Regions from separate parts of the Homo sapiens genome. Here region 1 is linked to region 2. Evidence: promoter capture Hi-C in human tissues and cell types (Jung and others, 2019). All regions are on one chromosome and are shown on one strand. The core of a region is centred on a gene start or on the middle of the fragment in contact, and the rest is flanking DNA. Distances in the headings are between cores, read along the strand shown. Region 1 overlaps NIPAL2 (NIPA like domain containing 2). Region 2 holds the start of KCNS2 (potassium voltage-gated channel modifier subfamily S member 2).

Region 1 (6,508 bases), core at 1,485-3,984, 220 kb before region 2:
ACCTGGCTGATTTTCCCCCTAATTTGTTAGAGATGACATCTTGCTATGTTCCCAGGCTGCAGAAAATCTTCCGATCAGGGCAACTATATTCTTTATGCACATTAATATTAACTATCAGGCTTATGTCATTTCTATGTCTCTTTTTGGCCTATTTTCCTTTTCCAATAATTCTAAGACACATCAATATGCAATCTTTTCTTAATTTATTAACTAGCTTAAAATACTAAAAAATTAGATGTCATGGGATAGAATATTTTCTTTAAATATTAAGTTTCAATTTTGGGAAACAGAAAATGCATTAATTACTTTAAAGAACTACCCACTGACAGTCACATTGTTTTCCATAAAATGAAAAAAAAATGTGCCAGTTAGGAAACAGACAATCCTCAGTTACTCCTCCAAATACATAAACTTTACATTGAGAAATGAACTCTCAAGATCAAGAAGGTGGTAAATACATCAGATAAGCCAATGAATGAGGGCATACCAGTACCAAATATAGAAATGGTATACTCAAATCAACTGTTTTTGGTTTGGACCGAGTTTCAAATTTATACTTTTAGTTTTAATGCTATCATGCCTGTCATATTTTAAAAAATGGTCCATACTAATAAAAGAACTGCAATAGTAGAAAAATAGAGGCCAGAATAGCAAAGGCAGTAGTTTCTATTCTTGTCTCTCAGGCTTGCCCTGGAACATTGAATTCAGTTTTGGATTGTACTGTCTGATCGAGCTGGTGAGGGGCATATAGGGAAGAGTTAGTAGAATTGGGCATGTATGGCCCAGAGACAAGACTCAAGAGGACCTTTCAGTTGCTTTGATGATCAGAAGGGCTGATATAGCTTGGATATCTGTCCCCTCCAAATCATATGTTGAAATGTGATCCCCAAATGCTGGAGGTGGGGCCTAGAGGAAGGTGTGTGGGTCCTGAGGGTGGATCCTTCACGAATGGTTTGGTGTCCTCTGTCAGTACTGAGTTCATATGAGATCTGGTTGTTAAAGAGACTGGGACCTACCCCTCTCCCTCGCCCCATCTCTTGCTATGTGACGTGTCTGTTCTCCCTTTGCCTTCTACCATGAGTAAAAGCTTCCTGAGGTCCTGACAAGAAGCAGATGCTGGCACCATGCTTCTGTACAGCCTGCAGAACCATGAGGCAAATAAACCTCTTTTAAAAATAAATTACTCCGTCTCAGGTATTCCTTTATAGCAACACAAAATGGACTAATCCAAGGGCTGGCAAGGGAAAGACTCCAACAAGAACAAAGATGAGTGTCTTAAATTTGCAAGGAAACTCATTTCAGCTCCAATATAAGAAAACACTTTCTACTTAGAAATCTCCAGAGAATGAGAGTGATCCAAAGCAGGACTGAGCTGACCCAGGAGGCAGAGAGCATTCACACAAAGTAGAGGAACCTCTCCTGGAAGATTGTCATAGGGGAAATTCAGACACCAGGTGGAGGCAACACAGATCCTTACAACCTAAAGATTTCTGGATTCTCTCATTTACTCTGGGAGAAACTTCATTTATGCTTGGAATCACCAATGTATAGAAAACCAAAACTCACCTGCAATGATGGCACTGATTGTAAAGAAAATATGATTAACTGGCACCACTGTTGTCGTATTGTAGAGTTTCGTGGCTTGATTCAGGAACCTAGGGCAGAAGGCACTTACTGGAGCTTTGGCTTTAGGAGACATTCAGCAATAAGTTAACAATAACTTCAAGAAACACGTGTTCTTTAGCTACAACTACAAAGGGAAAGGAGGTGCAGTGAAAGGGCATTTCCAATCAGCAGTCATAGCTTATATGCATCTGATGTATGAGATCAGATGTCAGGTTCTATGGTCTGTTTAAACCAACAACAGTAACAATGAAAAGCAATTAATCATATTCCGAGGCCACAGAAGTTTGAGTTGGAAGCGATTCAAGCTGCTGGACCAGTATCACACTGGGCCTGATTCATTAGGATAGACCCCAGAATCTGTTAAATATCATATCTGGGGAATAGTAGAGCTATCCATTGACATGCCACGTGCCAAGAAAGAAGATGGAGAAGTAAAGGAATGTTTAATGTTTCAAAAACAATGCTCAGTGCTCCAGCTGCAGAGCACATGTGGGAGCTCAGCTTCTCATTCTGGCCACCAACACAAATGCAGTTCCCACAACTGTGCTGTGCTGCCCTGCTAGGGACTAGATTGTTTTTTGAAGCAGTGAATTGCACTATCACCAGGGTGCTTTTAAAAAGCACTAATGCTTAGGTCCTACTCTAGAGAAATTGAAAAAAGTACTTTGTGGGTAGAGCCTGTGTGTGTGTGTGTGTGTGTGTGTGTGTGTGTACATACACATATGTAGGTATACGTAAATGCATGTATGTGCATGTATGCCTGCAAGTACATATACGTACAAAAGCCAGGTCATATACATGCATGTACATATGTATGTACAAAAACCAGGTCATTTTAATGGGCAACCAGGGCTGAGAACCACAGTCGTACAGTGTGATGGGTGCAGGAGACTGAGACAAGGGTGACAGGATGCAGTTTACCCCCAATTGTGTCTGCCTGTCAAATTTACAAAGTATGGTATGAAGATAATGCCACTAATCCCAAAAGATACTGTGGCAGTACCAATTAATTCAGAAGAAACAGATAAATGAAATAGCAAATGCAAGTATTAGAAACACAGGCTTATAAGGAGATGACAAACCAGTGACAAAACATTGGGTTTTTCCAGTAATTCTCCATAGACCTTGTAACAGGGCCTATCTTCAGCCCATAACAATTAGACGGTATTTCTCACACCTACAGAAGGAACCACTCTTGTACTGATTTTGAGCTCTGATTTCTTATCTGGGATGGTGCTTTTGCATAGCATTTTGGGGTGAACAGAAAACTTTCAGGTCAACTCAAGAAAGCCCAGCAGGCAAAGGCACAATCCCAATGTGAGAGATAGAGGGGAAGTGATTAGAGTTGATGGAGTGGGGGCAGGGAAGAGCAGAAATTAAAAACGTTCCATGTCACCACTATTAGGCCTCAAGAGAAACATAAAACAATCATTCCGCAATCCCATGGATACAAAGGAAATTCTGGCCAAAGATGCAAAATTTTGGGGAAAGGATTTCCCTCCCGGCCAAATGTCTGGTTTCGTCCTTCTCTGGGCAATTAGTGAGCATGAGCTAAGAAATGAAGGTGAAGGGTTCATGTGTGTCCTATATTTAGAATGAAAGCCTGGATGTGGACCTGCCCCTTTGATTTATTGCTAATGACAACCTGTGTACCACAGATATTAATTACAAGCAGAAGAGCATCAGGAAAGTATCAAAGTGCACTTAGCTGGATTAAGGCTGCGCTTTAGAACTCACAAGACATGAAGGCAACGCTTCATAAAAACTCATTATTGGATGCAAAGGAGGAAGCAAGGCATGTTGGCTGAGGACAAGCTACAGGCCCTTCACCCTTAGAAATCAGTTGTATCTCATTTTAATTATCATCTGAAGCCAGTAAAGATTAATGCCCAGAGAAGCACCGGAATGTTGAAAGATTAGTGAGTATGCAGAAGCTAACTTACTTGACTTGGAAAACACAAGATGCTATCATGATGATAAACATGATATAGAAAATGGGGTAAGTTAGTTGCATTTTATCCATCACAGAAAAAGTGATCATGCCTGAGACGGCCTTTACTGAAATAACAGTCAATGAGGCTGAAAAAGAAAACAAAAAACACAAATAAAGAACATATTTCAGATTGAATTAACAAATATCTTAAGCTTATGTAGTAGAGTAGCAAATATACCAATTATGGTTTAAGAATGAACACAGTTGTGAGAGGTGTAGGAAGGGATGTGACATTAGTAAGCAGTGGCCTTGTTGCTCGAGCCGTGCTGGATATCAAATTTGCTTAAATCAGCTAAAGATCTGCTGTGTGACTGTGTGTTTTTTTTTTTTATCTGTGGAGCAAGATGCTTCTTTTCCATCCCTAACTGTTGAAAGAATGCTGTGGAGGTTATAATTACTAGTAGATGGGAAAGGCAAAAACAATGGAGGGAGGAGATAAGAAAAGTCAGATTGTCCATGTGACATTAATGAGAAAATAACTATTAAACTATACTGAAAATTTAAAAACCAAGTAGATGAGAAGACTGGAAAGTGAAATGCAACTCACTTCTTGAGTTTACTTAGAGTTGTACTAAGTCATTGCTTCTCAGCCTTTTGGCTAAAATCAAGTGAGTTGTACTAAGTCTATATGTGAGCCCTTTTGTTAGGAGACACCTAGAAGTTTCATTAAGAATATTTTTGACAATGACAATAATTGGAAGCAGGAGCAGAGTTGAGTATTCATTTCTCAGGGTGGACCATCAATTTAAGGTTTACATAAGCAATAGCTATTTATGTTCTATGCTAAAGTGGAACTCATCCCTTATGAGAACAAACTTTTCGTAGGTTCCAAACAGCAATTAAGAAAAAGTAACTTGATAAGGTTATATCACTATGAAAGTAATGGAGCATTTTCTGGCAACATCATCTTTCTGTAAGGAAGAAAAGAATGCTTTCTGTCTTATGTCCCTCGAAGTTACTGTTGCAAATAATTCCATAATTTAGCTAAAACTCACTGAAAGTTCAAAAATAATTTTTACATGAAATAAAAAAACTATAAGTCAAAGGCAATGCGAAGGAGAAATACTCCTTTTGTTGCTGTTGATCTACTTGGTCATAATATATCTGAGTTTCCTTCATTTTATTTGAAAAGGTATTTTATGTATGTGTGTGTGTGTATATATATATATGTATGTATGTATGTATGTATTTGAAATATATATATATTTAAAACAGCAAGTGGTGGCCAGCCAAGAAAAGCCTCCCATAATATCGTTTTCCAAAAACTGAAAATATACTTTAACTTGAAGGGTACTAGGGCACACTTCCAAATTAGGCATTTTCTTTTAGTTAAAAATCATAATTGGCCGGGCGCGGTGGCTCACACCTGTAATCCCAGCACTTTGGGAGGCCAAGGCGGGCGGATCATGAGGTCAGGAGATCGAGACCATCCCCTGGCTAGCACAGTGAAACCCTGTCTCTACTAAAAATACAAAAAATTAGCTGGGCATGGTGGTGGATGCCTGTATTCCCAGCTACTCGGGAGGCTGAGGCAGGAGAATGGCGTGAACCCAGGAGGCGGAGTTCGCAGAGGGCCACTGCACTCCAGCCTGGGTGACAGACCGAGACTCTGTCTCAAAAAAAAAAAAAAAAGGAAAAAAAAATCATAATTGACAGAGGAGATCAGGTGATAAATTCTAAAAACAAACCCCACTTCTCAACAAAGAGGCCCTTACAATCAGGCCTTTCTCCATCTTAAGATGTCTTTTGACCTGATTCTTTTACATATTTCCTACTGATTATGCTAGTAGCCACATCTTAGCTAAACTAGGCATTTTAAATATCTATAGAGATCTGTGTGTCACTTGATGGTTTAAGTTTGTAGGTTAGCTCTTGAGGGACCTTGATTTCCTTCTAAACACTGCCTGAAATTAGAACACAGTGTGATTATGATCTTGTGGTCTGAACAGCCAGGTTTCCCAACGGGACAATTAATGGAGAAGGAGTTGAACGTACTGTTCCATTAGCCTCAGAACCTCAGAATTGCAAAGGACCTTAAAGGTCATCTGATTTAACCACTATCTGATTTTATATTATACTTAAACACAAGACAAAGACAAAACTAGAATTCTCTGTTATTGATAGCTAAACAAACTATCAATTTCTGTAGCCAATCGTTACATTTTCAAAGCATGCACAATTGTCAACTGATTAATCACTATTTTAACCTGTAAATTATTTCTAGGCTGGTGTTGAGTACTTCTAAGTATTTTTGGGGGGTGGTTGATGAGGATAGGTGGAAATACATAATTGTAATGCAGTGTTCTTCTAACATTATACTTAAAAATAGAAGGTACTTAGGTAAGCACAGAAAAAAAGATGAGAATAAACTACATCAAGATATTGTCAGTGGTTATCTCTAGCACTGGGATAATGAATTAACTTGAAATTCATTAAAAAAATCTACAAAAGTAAACATATTCATTTAAAAATTTTTGGAAAATGTGGGAAAGCCTGGAAAGGAAAATTAAAATTGCCTGTAGTTTCAGCACTCACCTCAAATCATTTTTGACATTTGGACATGTTGTTATTTTCCTATCTATAAGTATGAATAGGTTACAACATGTGAATCATAAGGTATATGCTACTTAGGAGCTCATTTTCCAAGTATATACCACTTAGGAACCTATTTACCTAAAGTATTTTCTATTTCATTAAGTATTCTTCTAAACCATGAATTTGTATGAATTTATTTTGGCAATTCCCTATTTTTGGATATTTAGGTTGTATCCATTTTTTTTTTAACTATTAAAAGCGGGGCTGTGATGAATATTCTTGAACGTAAGTCTTTGTTTATCACTCTGCCTATTTCCTTAGGAAAACCACCAAAGGGGAATTCCTGACTACAGC
Region 2 (6,974 bases), core at 2,961-5,460:
CCCCATCCCTGATACTGACCGCCGGGTGCAGACTCATGGACACACAGCTCTCGATCCGCACCCCCAAAGTCAGGCTGCTCAGGGGCTCAACCTTGGCTCCACCCTGGAATCATTTAGGAGCTTAAGAAATGCCGATTTGCCCTCACCAGAGACTCTGATCTAATTGGCCTGGTGTGAGGCCCAAGGCATCTAGGAGGATTGGCTAAATTAAAATCTCCCCAGGTGATTCGAATATGCAGCTAGGACTGAGATCTACTAAGCTGATCAGTTGCTCAGGAGAGCACCCCAGAGCCTGGGGGCTCCAGACCACAGCTCCAAGCACAGTGACTCCCTCCCCATCCAGTTCCCTTCTTGATGCATCAGGAGGAAGGAGTTGGGGCCAAGACTCTGGCAGGCACAGAATAACTTAACATAGCAGCTGGGGCCTCATTCATTCGTCATCCAATCCTGTATTCAATAACTATTTAATATACGTGTCGTGAAGGCACAAGAGAAACTGACCAAAGGCTCCAGTTTAGACTGGGGAGTCAGGCCTCTCTGAGGAGGTGATATTTAAATCACCTGAGTGGCAAGAAGGGGCCTGCCCCGTGAACCGCCATGCCAAGCAGGGAGTGTGGTAGTGCAGAGGCCCTGCACAGGGAGCAAAGCGGGCATGCGGCTGGAGCACAGCTGGTGGAGAAGAGAGCAGTGAGCCGAAGTTTGGGAGGTGGGCAGAGTGTATCATAGGGGGTCTTGGAGCTGTGGTTAGGAGATGGTTTTCATTCTCAGTGCAATGGGAAGTCCCTGGAAGGCTTTCAGGAGGGAATGACATGACCTCGTTTGTGTTTTTAAAAGACATTCTGGCTGCTGTGGGGAGGATGGCTGGTGGGGAGCAGGATGGACACAGGTGAACTGTCCAGTCCTTCAGGGCGGAAAGCACCTCTGTGCTGAAACACCAGGGGGAAGGTCAAGGACCCAACTGTTCCTCACAGTGGGGAATGTAGGTCAGGCAGCTCCCTCAGCCAAGCTGCCAGTGCAGCCCCCTCGCCTGTCAGGGGGAGAAAAGCTGAGTCTGAGATGTGTGGGCTCAGCTGAGAGATCATCATTGGCAGTGAAGGCAGAGATAACAGTCGGCCAGGTGCAAGGATCTGGGCCACTGACTAAGGTCTCTTCATCCCCCTTCCCAGGGTGCCTCTCCCTGCACACCTGTACCCCCTCACCATCTTCCCAGCAGGCCAGCCAGGCCAGCCCAGAGGCAGGCCTCAACCTGCGCCTGGAGCAGTGGCTGTATTTTAAGATCAGGGCTCAGACCTCTAAATAAACCATAAACAAAGCCAGCTTCCCCGGTATGGAAGGAGGGAGATGGCTCCATTTCTTTTCAGCACGATGACTGGGAAATAAACAAGTGGCTCTGCCTGTCACATACACTTAACCTCTGCAAAGGCATCTGTCAGACCCACAGAGCTTCTGTCTCAGCCTTTCCAATAAATAACTGATGTGCCCCACATTGGGCTTCTCCCTGCAGGCTCCAAGTTCACTCTGCCATTCAAGGAAAGGTGAGCAGGGGGGCTTGTCCCTGACCCCAAACTCACAGAAAGAGCTATCAAAGGGCAGGCTTAGACACAGGGCCCTAGTGTAGCTGGAAGCATGTTGGCACAGCTCTCTCAGCTGGGGAAGGGGACAAGGGGGAGGGAGAGAGGGAGGAAGGTAGGAGGTCGGGTTGTTGGCAAGAGCAGGGGCAGAGCTGAGAGGGGCAAGGAGTGGCCTCTGTTAGAGAGATGGGAGGGTGAGAGCCCCAGGGGCCCAGGCAGAGCCTGGTCTGCAGGTGGGGTGGCCGTGGGTGTGGAAGAAACAAAGAAAAACAGAAGGCAGAGGGCTCTCTCTCCATGGGTGAAATCTCCCACGACCACAGAGGATGAAGGAGAAAGAACAACAGACAGGAACAGAAGGAGGCGGGCAGATACATGAAGCAGGGGAGGGAGGAAAGCCCTGGAGGAATCAAACTCAAGTATGTGTAGAAGGAAGGACCCTCCAAATGCAGCAGAAAAAGGTGATTTATGCACTGAGCTAAACCAGAATAGCCAGGAGCCAAGGCCAAGGGAATGGGAGCGGCTGGGAATGGCGACATGTGGCAGAAGCCACAGAAGGGGGCTGTGAGCTCTGGAGGGGCCGGAAGGCAGGCAGCTCGTAGTGAAAGGATAGGGGTGAGAGCTAGGGAGAGCCACAGGGCCCATGAAGGCTGTCCCGTAGGTGCTGCTGCTCAGGCCCCTGCAGCAGAGACACCTTGCAGCCACCATCACCCCGCCGAAGGTGTGGAAGGGGGGATTGGAAAAGGGTGAAAGAGGCACTGACACAGGGATTATAAATGCACTGAAGCACACACCCCCTCAGCAAGGGTGGCACTCTCTCCACAGCACCCCCATGGGGATGAAGGAGATCCAGGGGCTCCCAGACTGCAGCCAGGTGTGTGGGAGCCACAGACCTCCAATGATGGACCCAGCAGACCTAGATAGAGGCTGCTGTCCACACACAGACCCTGAAAGAAAGGGAGATGAAGACAAGGATAACCAAGATCAGATTTTTCTCCGTCTCTCCCTCTCAGACACACACACACACACACACACACAAACACACTGGGAAATAAAGGGTGGCTTGTGTGTGTTTGAGGGTAGGGCAGAATGGAGGACTGGATTCCTCTTTTAGGGACCTGAAGAAAAGTTTCCCAAAGCCTGGGGAAAGGTCATACACAAGAAAGAGGAAGTGTGTGTGGCCCTCACTACCCTACTATCCCTCTCCCATGTGGCTGCCTCTGTGGAATCCACCACATTTGCAGAGGCCTGCAGGGGCATGGGTGTGAAGCCCTCTCAGCAGGAAACACACCTGCATTCACACCCACACACATGTCCAGAAGCCAGTGGGTCACAGGGATGGGTCAGACTTGGATGCAGGAGCCCCCATTCGAAGCCAGATTAACGGTCCTCTACAGGTCCTCCAAGGAGGCCCCAAGCCCTCCAGAGCTACACAGAGCACCTTTTCAGCTGGGACGGCATTGCCAGGATTGCGTAAAGAAAGAATGTACTTCCCACTGTGGCAGTGGTGGTTGCACCATGAATCCAGAGCCACCCTGCAAGGGCATTCCCAGGACTTCTGACCGAGACATGTAGACGCTAGCTCCCTGCTAAGCTCACACAACCACGGTGCTCCAGTCTTTGCAAGTGGACACCACAGAGAAACACCAAAGGGAGGGGGCTCCCCAGGGACTGGGTCCATTTCTCAGCTCAGCCCAGTAGGCAGGGCCTTAAGGACAATCCCAGCAGACCAAGAGCTCAGATCTGGGCCACGAGTCTTCTTAGGAATAGGGACACAGATCCTGAGCACATCTACCAGTCCCCACTCCAGCTTGAACCCCCCAGTCCCCACTGTCGGCAAGCACACCGCTCTCAACATATTCCACACACATGAGCCCGTCACAGTCCCAAGAGTACTACACTGTACACAGCACATGTACACACAGCACACGGTTCCCCATGCCACACACTGCGCTGACACACGTCCCAGGTCCCCCCTGTGCCGACGCATCTTCCCATCCGACAGAGGACCCATTTTAATGAACGCGGTACACACAGACACTGAAAAGTCCTGCTGTCCTCAGCCTACATACACACACAGCGCCCTGCAGTCCCGCACAGCCAGCACACCACACCGGCCTGGACACAAACTGTGCCCACACAGAGCTCCCGACCAGAACTCAGCGACTCCCGCCCCCGCCGTGCGGCCTGCGCTCCCGCCCCCCGCGTACTAAGCCGATCTCCACCTTGGACTTCCCGGCCCCCTCTTTTCCCCTCCAGCTCCTGTTCCCCAACAACCCCACCCCCGGGCTTCGGGAAACTTTTCTTCAGGTCCCTAAAAGGGGACACCTGGAGTTCCTCCGGTCCCGCCCTGTCCCCGGACACGCGCAAGCCGCCCTTTATTTCCCAGCCCAGCTCCCGCCAGACCCAGCGGGGAAAGGTCACCGTAGGCAGCCCCCTGCCTGCGCCCTGGGGGTGGTGATAATAACAGCTGTCACCGGGGGATGGTCGGGGGGAAGGGAGAGGTGTCGGCCCCGCGCCGAGCCGGGGGCGCAAGGTGGTCGCGGTGACGCGCCGGGGAAGCGCAGAGAAGCAGCGGCGGCGGCGGCTGCGCCTTCCGAGCCCGGGCGGCGGCCGAGGCACGCGGAGCTGTCCGTTCAGCACCACCGCGCCGCGCCCCGCGCAGGGCGGGCGCCCCGTCACACCCGCTCTGCTCCCGCCCCGGCTCACGGGGCGAATGCGGCGCGGGTTCCTGCCTCTCTGGGTGGGTGAGGGGCGCGCGGATCCGGAGAGGGGGCTCCGGGAGCGGCGGGACCACGCAGCCACCTGTGAGCCTTCGGCAGCTGCGGGCGGCGGCGGCGTACCCGGCCCGAGACGGGAGGAGACGCTCGGCGGCCCCCGCCCGCCGGCCCGCCGGGCGCACACACTCGCACCCGCGCACGCACCGCCAGCAGGCAGCGGCCACCGCCGCGATGCTCGCCCGCGGGTTGGGGAAGTTTCCCGCCGGCCTCGGCCGCGGGCACCCGTGCTCCCAGGTAAGCGCTTCCAGAACGCGCAGGGCGAGCCCGGGCAGCCCCGCTGGGTGAGGCGCAGCGCACGCGGCCCCGGGGCATAGCGCCAGGCCGGCAGGGAGACCTGGGCCGGGGACGCGGGGGCTGCAGGCGTGGGATCTGGACCCAGGGGAGGCCGGGCCGCCCCCCTCATTCCCGCGGCCCGGGTTTCCAGACTCCAGCGCATCCCCCCCACCCCACCAAAGCTACGCGCCCCCCGTGTCGGCCCGGCCCTGCCCGTGCGTATCTCAGCTCCGGTCCCGCCTGTCTGCGGCGAGCGGGCGGGGGCGTCTCCCGGGCCTGCCCATGGACAAGGTCAGCATGCAGCCCCCTGGGCGCTCAGAGCCGCGGGGACGCGACCCCGCACGCGCAAAGCGCCCACCGAGACCCCTGGGGTGGAGCTGTGCTAATAGAAACATACCCACCCCCAGCCTTTCCTGGGAGGGGATCAGACCCCTCAAACTCTTGCCCCAGCCCAGCCCTTCAGCACCCAAGACCCACCAGGAGGCCTGGGCCCGCCAGTAATGGGTAGGGAGAGGGGGCCCCGCCAGGGCGCACGGCGCTCTCGCCGACGCTGTTCCCTCCGCTTCCAGGTGTAGCGCCCCCGCGCGGCGCGGGCGGCCGGCGCCTCCAGCATGACCGGCCAGAGCCTGTGGGACGTGTCGGAGGCTAACGTCGAGGACGGGGAGATCCGCATCAATGTGGGCGGCTTCAAGAGGAGGCTGCGCTCGCACACGCTGCTGCGCTTCCCCGAGACGCGCCTGGGCCGCTTGCTGCTCTGCCACTCGCGCGAGGCCATTCTGGAGCTCTGCGATGACTACGACGACGTCCAGCGGGAGTTCTACTTCGACCGCAACCCTGAGCTCTTCCCCTACGTGCTGCATTTCTATCACACCGGCAAGCTTCACGTCATGGCTGAGCTATGTGTCTTCTCCTTCAGCCAGGAGATCGAGTACTGGGGCATCAACGAGTTCTTCATTGACTCCTGCTGCAGCTACAGCTACCATGGCCGCAAAGTAGAGCCCGAGCAGGAGAAGTGGGACGAGCAGAGTGACCAGGAGAGCACCACGTCTTCCTTCGATGAGATCCTTGCCTTCTACAACGACGCCTCCAAGTTCGATGGGCAGCCCCTCGGCAACTTCCGCAGGCAGCTGTGGCTGGCGCTGGACAACCCCGGCTACTCAGTGCTGAGCAGGGTCTTCAGCATCCTGTCCATCCTGGTGGTGATGGGGTCCATCATCACCATGTGCCTCAATAGCCTGCCCGATTTCCAAATCCCTGACAGCCAGGGCAACCCTGGCGAGGACCCTAGGTTCGAAATCGTGGAGCACTTTGGCATTGCCTGGTTCACATTTGAGCTGGTGGCCAGGTTTGCTGTGGCCCCTGACTTCCTCAAGTTCTTCAAGAATGCCCTAAACCTTATTGACCTCATGTCCATCGTCCCCTTTTACATCACTCTGGTGGTGAACCTGGTGGTGGAGAGCACACCTACTTTAGCCAACTTGGGCAGGGTGGCCCAGGTCCTGAGGCTGATGCGGATCTTCCGCATCTTAAAGCTGGCCAGGCACTCCACTGGCCTCCGCTCCCTGGGGGCCACTTTGAAATACAGCTACAAAGAAGTAGGGCTGCTCTTGCTCTACCTCTCCGTGGGGATTTCCATCTTCTCCGTGGTGGCCTACACCATTGAAAAGGAGGAGAACGAGGGCCTGGCCACCATCCCTGCCTGCTGGTGGTGGGCTACCGTCAGTATGACCACAGTGGGGTACGGGGATGTGGTCCCAGGGACCACGGCAGGAAAGCTGACTGCCTCTGCCTGCATCTTGGCAGGCATCCTCGTGGTGGTCCTGCCCATCACCTTGATCTTCAATAAGTTCTCCCACTTTTACCGGCGCCAAAAGCAACTTGAGAGTGCCATGCGCAGCTGTGACTTTGGAGATGGAATGAAGGAGGTCCCTTCGGTCAATTTAAGGGACTATTATGCCCATAAAGTTAAATCCCTTATGGCAAGCCTGACGAACATGAGCAGGAGCTCACCAAGTGAACTCAGTTTAAATGATTCCCTACGTTAGCCGGGAGGACTTGTCACCCTCCACCCCACATTGCTGAGCTGCCTCTTGTGCCTCTGGCACAGCCCAGGCACCTTATGGTTATGGTGTAAGGAGTATGCCCAGCCCCTGAGGGGAGAGATGCATGGGATATGCACCCAGGTTTCTTTTACAGTTTTTAGAATCGTTTTTAGAGGGTGGTGTGTCTGACACCATGCCTTTGCACCTTTCCATGAAATGACACTCACTGGTCTTTGCATCGTGGGCATAAAATGTTCACCTTTTTGCCAGATGAGTACACCCAGAATGCTAATTTTTCTGTCCATCGTGTA

The links. The method cuts DNA at HindIII sites, captures the fragments that hold promoters and counts their contacts. A contact is called where the count stands out against the background at its distance.
Region 1: a fragment that was not itself captured here is called in contact with the fragment with the promoter of KCNS2 in region 2 in 2 of the 25 tissues and cell types used here (IMR-90 fibroblasts and adrenal gland).

What each region holds. Positions count from the first base shown.
Region 1 is chr8:98,201,542-98,208,049 of GRCh38, forward strand. It overlaps NIPAL2 (NIPA like domain containing 2), which reads right to left. Exons shown (of 11, transcript NM_001321635.2): 7 at 3,570-3,705; 8 at 1,567-1,655. The region is part of intron 2 of NIPAL2-AS1 (NIPAL2 antisense RNA 1); the gene reads left to right. Among named protein-coding and RNA genes, the nearest start is that of NIPAL2-AS1, 28 kb to the left of the region's middle. The HindIII fragment of the contact is 6,566 bases long and covers 1-6,017 here.
Region 2 is chr8:98,422,748-98,429,721 of GRCh38, forward strand. It overlaps KCNS2 (potassium voltage-gated channel modifier subfamily S member 2), which reads left to right and starts at 4,211. Exons shown (of 2, transcript NM_020697.4): 1 at 4,211-4,582; 2 at 5,191-6,974. The coding sequence starts at 5,233. The coding sequence ends at 6,666. It also overlaps a transcript of STK3 not described here. RefSeq lists a silencer at 4,111-4,310. The HindIII fragment of the contact is 18,533 bases long and covers 1-6,788 here.